Regions from separate parts of the Homo sapiens genome. Here all the other regions are linked to region 1. The links are contacts of gene promoters, found by promoter capture Hi-C in blood cells and fetal thymus (Javierre and others, 2016). All regions are on one chromosome and are shown on one strand. The core of a region is centred on a gene start or on the middle of the fragment in contact, and the rest is flanking DNA. Distances in the headings are between cores, read along the strand shown.

The links. The method cuts DNA at HindIII sites, captures the fragments that hold promoters and counts their contacts. A CHiCAGO score of 5 or more calls a contact.
Region 2: the fragment with the promoter of VPS36 here is called in contact with the fragment with the promoter of FNDC3A in region 1 in 1 of 17 cell types (fetal thymus); the score reaches 6.5 in fetal thymus.
Region 3: a contact is called between the fragment with the promoter of SUGT1 here and the fragment with the promoter of FNDC3A in region 1, in 4 of 17 cell types (total CD4 T cells, naive B cells, total CD8 T cells and 1 more). The highest score is 6.3, in total CD4 T cells.

The regions. Positions count from the first base shown.
Region 1 is chr13:48,974,299-48,978,076 of GRCh38, reverse strand. FNDC3A (fibronectin type III domain containing 3A) reads right to left here and starts at 2,165. Exons shown (of 26, transcript NM_001079673.2): 1 at 1,900-2,165. RefSeq lists enhancers at 1,131-1,230, 1,391-2,010, 1,901-2,200, 2,011-2,630, 2,901-2,960 and silencers at 1,371-1,850, 2,181-2,450. The HindIII fragment of the contact is 6,136 bases long and covers 1-3,778 here.
Region 2 is chr13:52,449,207-52,452,725 of GRCh38, reverse strand. It overlaps VPS36 (vacuolar protein sorting 36 homolog), which reads left to right and starts at 2,092. Exons shown (of 14, transcript NM_016075.4): 1 at 2,092-2,227. The coding sequence starts at 2,132. RefSeq lists silencers at 1,846-1,905, 1,946-2,405 and an enhancer at 1,926-2,506. The HindIII fragment of the contact is 2,912 bases long and covers 1-2,711 here.
Region 3 is chr13:52,650,438-52,654,385 of GRCh38, reverse strand. It overlaps SUGT1 (SGT1 assembly cochaperone of MIS12 kinetochore complex), which reads right to left and starts at 1,550. Exons shown (of 13, transcript NM_006704.5): 1 at 1,428-1,550; 2 at 1,283-1,340. The coding sequence starts at 1,465. SUGT1-DT (SUGT1 divergent transcript) reads left to right here and starts at 2,079. Exons shown (of 1, transcript NR_170300.1): 1 at 2,079-3,081. RefSeq lists enhancers at 1,070-1,189, 1,299-1,800, 1,910-2,249 and a silencer at 1,550-1,819. The HindIII fragment of the contact is 4,517 bases long and covers 1-3,948 here.

The DNA of each region.
Region 1 (3,778 bases), core at 916-3,415:
TTTAATGCTTATTATTAATTTGGGATAAATTAATTACCCTTATAACTATGCTTGACAGTGTTAACCAGGATTTTATTTTTCCGGAGCATTCAATGATTTGGAGGATTCAGACAAAAGGGAAAAAGAGGGAGTTAATTCAGAAGCATACAGGTGGCTAACGGTAGCCAGCCTGGGATAAAAAATTTTCCAGTTAACCTACACATAGAAAACTAACAGATGATCTATGAAATGAAACAAGACAATATAGTAAAATTTAATGTAGTAGTGCTAAAAAATTTAAATATAAGATTTAATATTAAAATTTTAACAAGATGTTTCTCCTGTCATCATCCCTTCTTCCCACTAACTGGTGTGATTAGAAAGCAAGATTAGTAGGCTACAAAGCTAAAAGCAACATTTCAGGTTATATTTCATAAAAGATGTGGTAAAAATCCTTCATCACTGTTTTCTGTTGGGCCACCATCTGTCTCAGTGAGTACTTCATCTCATTACTTAAGAAAAATTAATTCAACCAAGAAAATATCCAAAAGACAGGGGATTCAACTCACTTGAACATTTGTGGGTGACACAAGATGACAAGAGTTAGTAAATACGCAAAAACTAAATATTTATCCAAACATAAGATCAGAACCACAAAACTCAATTCGTTTCTGCCTAACATATGGCTCAAACTCCTGAGTGGCGTATGTTTAGTACTGGAGCTGGTAACAGCATGGTGATAAAATATTATAGTAAGAGTTCAACTGTTATTTCATTCCTACAATACAGAAGCATACACACTTTGGTTTCAAGAACTAAAAAACACAGACCACAGTAAGAAGCAAAATAATTACGTTGTTCGGTTTTAAAAACCCATAGTGAACACATAATGATTATACCGCAAAAAGAAAAAAAAAATCTCATCAGCCTGCGACTCTTATTTAATAGATGGTCAGACACAAAGGTGTCCAAAGGAACTTACGTAAAATCTCACAAAAGAAAATCTCGAATTCACAATCTCTAGCACCCCCAGCAAATCATCGCATTCCACCCTCTAAAATATCCCAAGGCTTGTAACGCTAACAGTTGAATAAAAGAACAATTAACGACCACATCCATTAAAACAGTCCCTCTTCTGCTCGCAATCTGACAGCGAAATTATCTGTTCATTTTCCTTTACCTAACACATGACGTCGTTTCCAAAGCCGTGTCAAAAGTTCGAAGATCCAGGTTGTTAAAACCGGGCGAGGACTGCAGCCTCGAGTCCACCTCCCGACTGAACAGGTGGTTAACTCGCCCGGGGAGAGGAACTGCCAGGTACTGGAAGCAGCCACGCAGGATCAAACAGAGGGCGGGTTTTCGAGGTTTTAACCCCAAGATGAGCGGGGAAAACTCTCTTCAGAAAAGCGTTCAAGTTCGGCGGCTGCCGGGCGGCCAAAGCCGAAGGCGCCGCGGGTGCTGGGCGATCCTCTCAGGAGGATTCCGCCCCAGCCCCCGCCCCCGCCCCCGCCCCCGAGCCCTCCGGAGCTACGCGGCTCGCCGCGGGGAGGAGGCGGGGGACAGAGAGAAGGGCCGCCCGCGCACCAGCGCCACCTCCCTCGGGCTAGATGCCGCCTCCTCTTGGGCTGGATGGCGCCCCCGGCCGCGCCCCCGCAAGCGTGTCCTGGCTAGGCTCGGCCCCGGCAGGTGCCCGACTAGTAGACCGGTCCTGTCCCCGGCCCCACTGCCCCTCTGCACCTCTGCCCACAGCGCGCCCACAGAAGGGGGTGGTCCGCGCCCCTCGACGGGGCCGAGCCCTGGAGAGTGCCCCGGCCCTCAGTCCCAGCCTAACGGTTTCCGCGGCGCCTCCTCCGGGGCGGGACGGGGTTGGGACGGCTCGGTGTCCCCCGCCTTTCGCGGAGGGAGTGCCCGCGCTCTCACCTCCGAGTCACGCCGTTCTGAGGCAGAAGGCGGCTCCTCTGGCGCCTCTTCTTAGGGTTCCTGATCGTTGTCTCTCTACCTCAGCTGCAGAGTCAGCTCTCAGGGCCGCCGCGGCCGCCGGCGCGCTGACTGTTGGGGTTGTTTCCTGGCAGTGACGCCGCCGCCTCAGCCCCGCTCTTCGCTCCCTCTCCGCGTAGCTCCCGCTTTCTGTTTCACCCGAGGGACCACGAACGCCGCCGCCGCCATGCTTACTACGGAGCCGGGAGGAGGAGCCCGAAGTCGGCGCGCCGAGTGCGGCTGCGCGGGCCCCGCCGACGGAGCCCGCGGCCGGGACCCCGAACCCCCGCCTCGAGCCCGCCGCGCCGGGGCTCTCTCACCGGAACGCGAGTCCCCGCGGGGCCACCGGCGCGTGGCGGCTGAGCGGCCGCGTTTGGCTCCCGGAGCGCCCACACCCTCTCGGGCTTCCGGCTTTCTCCCGAGGCCCGGCTGCGCCTGGCTTGTGGTAGCATCCGCTGTGGCCAGGCTCGGAGCTACACTCAGGAAAAGTGGAGTTAATGGAGGTTCCTAGAGACACTCACACAATTCTCAATCCACATTTCAAAAGGCTCCCCTGAGACGCACCCTGTCGGCCCCTTTCCGAAAGCACGCGAACTTAAGGCTGGCAGGTGCTTTAAAAGACACTCCTCCCAAGGACTAGGAAGCCTCTGAAATGGGCTTGGAAGTTTCTAATCCCAAAGACTTCGAACCCAGGATCTGGATAGCAAGCAAAAATATTTAGATATTTACTCAGTTGAAAACGTGGGGGGTGGCTTCGTGGTCTCTTCGCCAGCCAAATCGCGTGGAAAACCACGACCTCAATTTTTACAACAGCACGAAGACTTACAAGTGAGCGTAGCAGCGACTTCCTGGAACCTCAAACAATGTGGGACGCTGCAATAATGCCTGAGGGCTTTTGACTTACAGTTGCCGCCGGAGACCTGGGGAGGGGGTAGTACTTGGGCCGGTGAGTCCAGCCTCAGGAACTGTCCTTTCAAAAATGGTGATGGATGTAACAAGTTGCATGTCTGGGCTTTATTTCAGTGTATTAATTGTGCGATCTTTTAAAATAGCTGTATTTTTAAAACTGTTTTACAGAAATCTCTTTAAAATGTGATTATTCTCTATATTCTTAAAGAATACAATGGCTAATTAAATCCTTTGTTGATAACTGACTCTCAAACCGATATCTTGGCCATACGTTTAAGTCCCAGAGGATTGCTGCGGTGTATAGAATCCCTACTTTGGTGCTCTCTTTTTTTCCCTCTTTGGAATGTTCTCATCACCTCTTCTAAAATCCTTCACTGCTTTTCATCTCCTCATCTGCCTCTATCCACTCTGATCCTTCCTCTTATTCTTTCTGCTTTACTGTTTATTTTTCATTCTTCTCTCCTTTCTCGGCTGGTTTTCTCTGCGGCTCCAGGTGAAGATTGATGGGATGTTTATGTCCACAGCCAGCTAATGAGAGGTTTCTTTTCTTCTGGTTGTAAATAGGGCAGTGGTATCTTGAGATATTTTCATTGCTCTTCACTATCAGAAGTTCTTTCCCTGTGAGAGATGTTTCCTTTTCTTAACTTTTGGATTTGGCCCTCTTCGAGACAGCTGGCAAGTTGATCTTGGAATAATTGAAGTATAACTGTATATTGTTTCAAAGTATGAGGATTTTATCAGAGTGTGGGCGAATGGGGTGGCTTCCCCATCTTACTGCCCAACTATGCTTGGTCTGAGACTAAGATAGTGGTTTCCAAACTTACCGCTAAGCTAATACTTTCCTACTCTGCTTCCTACTCAGGAGCTTTTTGAAAATACAGAATCCTGCAATCTACCCCCTCAAGATTCTGAT
Region 2 (3,519 bases), core at 843-3,342, 3.5 Mb before region 1:
GTTTCTCCTTGCTCCAGCCTGGATACAGGAAACCCTTATACGGTTGTCTATCCCAGCAGCTATCATATGCCAGGCTTCTATTTGTGTCCTACAGACTGTACATCCCTCAAGGGCAGAAAACATACCTTGCAAATGTCCTCACTGCCTAACATGTTGATAATTGCAAAGCCCAGGCATAACTGCACAGTTCCACATCTGATTAGGATGCTTAGGTCACATTACTTTCAATTAAAAAAGACTAAAAAGTTGGTAAACAATCAAATGCTCAAAAATCAGGCAATGATGGTAAATTGTGATATATATTGATAGCATATTACAGCAAATCAAATGTTTTCAAAGAACTTTTGGTTATTGGGTATATGGTCATGATGGAAATTGAAAGATATGAAATACAGAAGACACTGTTTAGAAATAGACCAAAATACACACAGGATTTTGGAACACGGTAAAAGTAGCAATTCATTTCGGGGGAGAGATGGCTTATACTCATTGGAAAGAGCCTTTCCTTTCTTTTAATGCCTAGCCACAGACCACTGACTCCACGACTGGGGGAAATGTGGAGCCCTGGGGGCAGAGAGCAAGCCTGCCCTCTGTCCCTCTGCCCCTGTGCCCCTCTGCCCACGTGGGCACGCAGCCTTAGTTAAGACCCCAATAAGTGGTAGGCTCTCTAAAATGTGTTCACAACCTTTAAAGCAGTCATTCTATTTTAGGAAGACACTGTAAGAAAATAATCCTAAAGAGAAAAATATGTATCAATTGTAGAAGGACATCTATAAGCTGCTCCATTTATTTATTTATTTATTATTTATTATTATTATTTTTGAAGCAGAGTCTCGTTCTGTCGCTCAGACTGGAGTGCAATGGTGCGATCTCGGCTCACTGCAACCTCTACCTCCAGGGTTCAAGCGATTCTCTTGCCTCAGCTTCCCGAGTAGCTGGGATTACAGGCACCCGCCACCACGCCGGGCTAATTTTTTGTATTTTTAGTAGAGACAGGGTTTCTCTATGTTAGCCAGGCTGGTCTCGAACTCCTGACTTGTGATCCGCCCGCCTTGTCCTCCCAAAGTGCTGGGATTACAAACGTGAGCCACCGCGCCCGGCCAGGTGTTCCATTTATAAAGCAAAATACAAAAATGAAATGGCTAGGGGCACGAGGCCGCCTGGTGGGTGAGAGCAGCGGCCATGGATGGCTTTGCGCAGACCAACAAACAGCTAAATTATAGAGGAACTACATATTGAAATGTAAATTCACGCATGAGGTCTGTATTAATATTGAAAATGCCTAAATAAAAATAATCTTTTTTTTCTGAGCCTGGGGGTGGGGGAGTGGAGTGGCGTGGGGGAGTTGGGGTGGAGGGGGAAAGGGTCTTTCTATGTCGCCCACTGGTGTCAAACTCCTGGGTTCAAGCAATCCTCCCGCCTCAGCTTCGGAAGCAGCTGGGAATACAGGCGCGCGCATCAAGCCCGGTTAAATAAAATCTGTTTCCCCCAGTTAAAAAAAAATTAATTTGTGTGGGTACATAGGTGTATATATTTCTGGGGTATATGGGATATTTTGATACAGGCATACACTGTATAATAATCACATCAGGGTAAATGAGGTATCCGTTACCTCAAGCATTTATCCTTTGTGTTACAATATAATCTTAAAGGGAAAAAAAGAGCAGCACAGGTAGTACTGACTGCAGCTGTACAGAAACAATGCGTGCCATAAATATTCATTTGAAAGAGAGGGGTTATGATTATTTACAATCATTAGCGAATGTAGCAACATTCTGGGCACTGACAAGAAAACTGCCACAAACATGCAGGCATAATGCACAATAAGCAAGTCCAAGCTGTGGTCGGGGCTCCCTCGCGTCCCTGTAAGCTCTGAATTTAGAATGGGGTGGACCGCCTGCTGATCAAGGGTTCTGAAAGGCCGGCGGCTAATGGACCGCCAGGGGGCGCTCCACGCACGTCTCCACGTCCCCGGGCGCACCTCGCAGCCGCGCCCGCTCGCTGCCAGGCCGCTCCCTCCGTCCCTCACCCGCCCCGACTCGCTTCCGTCCCGTCCGACGCTAGGGGGCGCCGCAGGCTGCCTGGCGCGCTGCTCGCGGCCTCGGAGGGCCGGGGCTGGGTGGCAGCGGCCATGGACCGCTTCGTTTGGACCAGCGGCCTCCTGGAGATCAACGAGACCCTGGTGATCCAGCAGCGCGGGGTGCGAATCTACGATGGCGAGGAGAAGGTAGGGCGTCTGCCAACCTTCCCAACGGGCTGGCGGAAGGGACCCCCGGTGGGCGCGCGGCCCGGCTCAGCGCGGCCCGGGTCGGCGCGGCCCGGTCCCCGGCTTAGCTCACGGCCCTCGGCGGCCCGGCAGGCCTCTGTGCGGGGTGCAGCGCTCTTGCGCTCCCCGCCGGTCGGTAGCACGTGGCGTGGGGCGCTCGGCTGCCTCCCCAGCGCGGGTCCCAACTTTGGCACGGTTCCCAGCAGGCGCGGATCGCGGCCGCTTCCCTCCGCCCGGAATGCTTCCGGGAGCGCACAGCTGCAGTGCCCGGGAGAAGGAGCGCTCGCCGTCTGCGGGCGCCGGGCGGCGATCCGGCAGTCGACTTCCTTGGCGTGGTTCCAGACCCCCTGACGACACCAACCTCGGCGTCGGCACCGGACAGCCCCGTTTCGCCTTTCTGTGAGGAGGGCGCGGTGGCCGTACAGTCCGTGCCCCAGCGGAAGCTTTAGCTTGGACCTTATGCAGTCGGAGGGATTAGCATATCTGGGCAGAGGGGTGAGGGATTGCTTCGAAAGGATTTCCTAAAGAGGTATCAGTGCTTCATTGGAATGCCCTTGCCAAAGGCTATTGGGTTTTTGTTTTGTTTTCTAATTGCTTTAGAAAGGCGTTCTGAGCGTGTTTTGTAAAGTGTTATATTAATAGTAGACCGTGCCTTGTAGTGCAAGCATAAATCTTAGAAGGTGCGTTTGCAAATCGAGAGGAGAAATAGGAAGTGTAAGTAAATATTTTGTAGATACTTTACTGAAACTATGAAATATCTTGTCCTGGATTGAAATGGATAAACTGGAATTAGAAAAATTTTAAAACTCATTTACCCACAAGCATTTTTGGTTTCCAGAAGTTTTAATTTGCTACCTCTCTTCCCTTGCCGTTTTATTAACGACACTTTCCGCTGTACTTTGATATAAGTTCCTCAACTCAGCTTTTCCTGGTAAGTGCTTACAGCTATTTAGAGGCACAGGTGACATTGGACCCAGGTCCTCTGACTCTCTTAGGGCATTTTCTATGGGCTGTGTTGCCTGTATTAGTGAGTAAAGGTCTTTTCCTTAAATAATTTGCTTGGACCTAACTTCACTTACTGCCTTAGCACTTCTTAATTTAATTAATTAATTTATTTATTTTGAGACAGAGTCTCGCTCTATCGCCAGGCTGGAGTGCAGTGGCGCGATCTGGGCTCACTGCAACCTCCGCCTCCCAGATTCAAGATCCTGCCTCAGCCTCCTGAGTAACTGGGATTACAGGCGCCTGCAACC
Region 3 (3,948 bases), core at 301-2,800, 3.7 Mb before region 1:
CTTTTATATAAACTGGATTCCCAAAGGAAGCACTAGGTCTAACACGACAATAACAAATGTAAATTAAAAGTCATAGCTGTCTAGCTAATACAAGAAATTATGGAGAAAAATTCTCAGTGCTTCCTGTAACATTATCCCCAAACTCATCCCAGAAGCCTTACTCCCAGTATCTAAAGGTCTATATATTTAGGTGTAAAAAACACACCTGGACCCTAAAAGGCCTTATAGGACCTGGCTCCTAGTTTCCTGTCCAACCTCTCTTAATCAAATGGGCCCTCTAATAAAAAGGGCCTTTTTGTTGCTTCACATACAGGCCAACTTCATTCCTACCTCAAGATCTGCACTGGCTCTTGGTCCTGCCTGGAATATTCTTTCCCCAGAGCTTCCAAGTTAATTCCCTTGTTCCTTCAAATCTCCACTCAAAGATCTCCTCAACGGAGGCTCTAGTACCATGTGGCACATTTCTTATAAAAGTCATAGCTAGAAAAGACGCTGTCTTGCCTCAAATTGTTAAACGTAACAGCAAAACAGGTTTCCTCTTTTCTGTGATTTAACGCAAAAACAAACAAAAACTCCTGGCTAAATTCTGTGACCCGCAGCATCATTTATCTTTAGGTTCTCCTTTAATTCTTATTATTTAACTCTTGATCTTTTACATTCCTTTACAGCTTTATGGTTTGCCTTCATTGCACACCTACAAAAAGTGATTTCTAGGTTAGCTGAGTATATAACCAAGACTTTAACCCACAGCAATCAGCGCCTTTGCACACAGCCACTCCAAAAAAAAATTTTGATGAATATACAAATGAGTGAATAATGAATTGTGATAAGACATCTGGAAAGTTTCAGGGACGTGAGGGAAAAGGGTTTTGCTCCAGTAGACTGACTTCATACCGACACTTTTACGTAAGAATGGCAAGAATTATTGTCAAACGAAAAAATTAACTTCATCGAGCCCAGAGTCCACTTCTCTAATCATAAATGTCATTAAAAAAAAAATCCTTTCAGCCAAACTACAAATGCCAACCATGCTCCCAAGAAATAGAGGAGGTTTTTCTCAGGAGCTGTAGGGAGTGGAAAGGGCAAGACAGGAGTCTGGGGTAACGCGGCTACCGTGTAACAGAGAAAAGAGACGGAGAATCTCAATACCGGAGCTGAGACGCAGCATCAACAAGAGCCTGGGTCCCTGTCCGGCGGTGCGGGGAGAAGGCGGGTCAGCGGGGACCCGAAGTGGCCCAGCTCCCCTAAGAAGAGTGGAGGAAGCAGAAATGGGCTCTCTCACCTCTAACGCCGCCTGGGGGTCCTCGTCGATTAGGGCATCCGAGAAGCTCTGGAAAAACCTGTCAGGAAAACAACGACTTCAGCAGGGCTCACTAGCCAAGGAAAGGGGGATAAAATAAATACCAAAGGGAAAGAAAAACATGCACCTCTGGGATGTTGCAGTTCCTGCTGCAGCCGCCGCCATCCCTCGTAGTCGCTGTTGCTGCCGCCGGAGCTGCTACTATCACGGTTACCACCTCCACCACCGCCCAAGGGGGAAACTTCTGGAGAAACACCAACCGAGCTTCCGTCCTAAATAGCCAGCGAGCAGCCACGCAGCGTGCTGCTAGGGGGACGGGAGGCGACACGCCGGCGCGGGGCCGGCTGGGACAGTGGAGGACCGATTCCTCCCAGCCGCACCCCGGCCCAGGACCCGCGCTCCCAGTCCCCGCCCCTCGCAGCCATGGTTACGGAGGCCTGGGGCGTACACGTTCTTCCTCCCTTCCACCGCGCCCACGCCAGCGGGCACTCCCACGGAGCTTTCAGTAGTACTTTAGAAGCACTTTTGTAACGTACTGTCATCCCTAAGGAACGTGTGGCGGTTAGGGGCGTTTGTATGTCTGTTAATAACGGAAGCTACTTCGAGCTCCCATTTTCCCTAGTTTTTATCATGGCTGCCACAGCTAGCCAAGCCCTTTCGCCTCCATTACGTCTTTAGCGGCTGCGTGGTCTCTTCCGGGAGCAGAGGCCCGGATGACGCGTGGATCCCCGCGATCTTTGGGCTGGGGATTCTAAACGACTGGGACTTGCCGGAAGTCATTCTGCACTAATAGCGGCAAAAAGCCTTCTGGTTCCTGGGGCGACGCGCCCGGCGGCCGTACTATTCACTTCCCCAGAACGCCACAGCCCAGGCTTTCTTCTTAGTGGGCTTCCCAGACCAAGAAGGGAAACCTTTCATCCGAAGGTACTGAGGGGAGGAAGGTGGCCTGAAGTTATCTCAGTGCCGCTTTGTTTCCCACCCCAGTCGGTCAGCCCTTCCTCAGCGCCCTTTAACCCTTGCAGATCGGATGGAGAAAGCTGCCAGCACGTTCTAGGGATGGGGGCAGATTGAGGAGCGGGAGGGAGTAGTCTTTGTCTAACTTTATACCAGTACCAAACTATGTTAATTTAATGTAGTTTTATAATAAATCTTTAAGTCCTGTAACTTATTCTCCCAAGATTGTTTTGGCTTATTCTACGGCCTTTGTATTTCTAGGTGAATTTTGGAATTAGCTTGTTAAAAAGGGGGGGGATTTTTTATTGGGCTCGCATTGAATCTATAGATCTGTTTGGGAAAACTAGTATCTTAACAACAAGTCCTTCAATCCATGAATATCATTCTTCCCCCACCATTTATTTAAGCGGTCTTTAATTTCTCCTGGCAATATTTTGTAGATTGCACATATATCTATATTTTAATGCAGCTGTGCTTGGATAGATTGCAGTATAGAGATCATATATATCTTTCATTAGATTTATTCTTGAGTATTTAGTGTTTTGTATACAATGTTAAATGGCATTTTGACTTTTTTATATTCTACTCGTAAGAATAAACAATATTGATTTTAACATACTGACCTTATATGCAAGCATCTTGCTAAGTTCCCTTGTTATTTGTAATACTCTGTAGATTCTTTCGGAATTTCTGTGATCAAAATCTTGCAATCCACGAATAAAGATGGTTTAACTTCTCTGTAACCTTTATACCTTTTATTTTTATTTATTTTTGCCTTTTGTTGCTGGCTAGTGTTTCCACTATTGAATAAAAACAGTGATAATGGACTTCCTTGTCTTGGTCATAACATCAGGAGGAAAGCATTGAATATCAACTGCTTTTTCTGCCTTTATTGAAATGTTCATTTGTATTTTTTAATGTTACTGTGAATTACCTTGGTTAGTTTTCAAATGTTATCTAAATGGCCAATTGTCCTTCTGGACCCCACTGACTCCAGTTGGGATGGCACTGTAAGAAGAGAGGCAGAGTCAGTGAAGGAGACAAGGTTTATTCAGGATTTACATACAAGGGTGGTCCGGTGGTGGAGGGCTGACCTGGAGAACTGCTACCATTTGTAAAAAGCACGTAGTCTATATAGCATTTTCACTTAGCACTCTCCTTCTAGCAACCTCCATTTAACCCCAAAGGGCCTTGATCTGTACAGCGTAAGATACGGGCCAGGGATGTGGATGTCCTTCATAGATAAGGAGTGAATCTCTGGGTTGGCTGCTCCTGGATTCCTTAGCCCAGGACTCCAAACGTAAGTTCTTCTTAGACCATAGGGTTAGTCTCAGGTATGCTCCGGTTATGGCTCAGCCATACACTAATGTGTGTACACCAGCCTCTGCCATGCACCAATACACATATATGTATGGCCTCTGAAAGGGTGAATTCCAAGACCGCCCTATGGGCCCAACATGAAAAGAAGTTCTATATATTATGGACATTGAAATCAATGAGATACCAAAACTACCACCAGAATGGCTTAAATTAAAAGGACTTCCAATACCAAGCACTGACAAGGATATGTAGCAACTGTATCTTTCATATATTGTTGGTGAGAGTTTAATCATTTTGGAAAACTGTGGTACCGTATGTCTGTTCTTGCATTGCTATAAATGAGACTAGGTAATTTATAAAGAAAAAATGTTTAA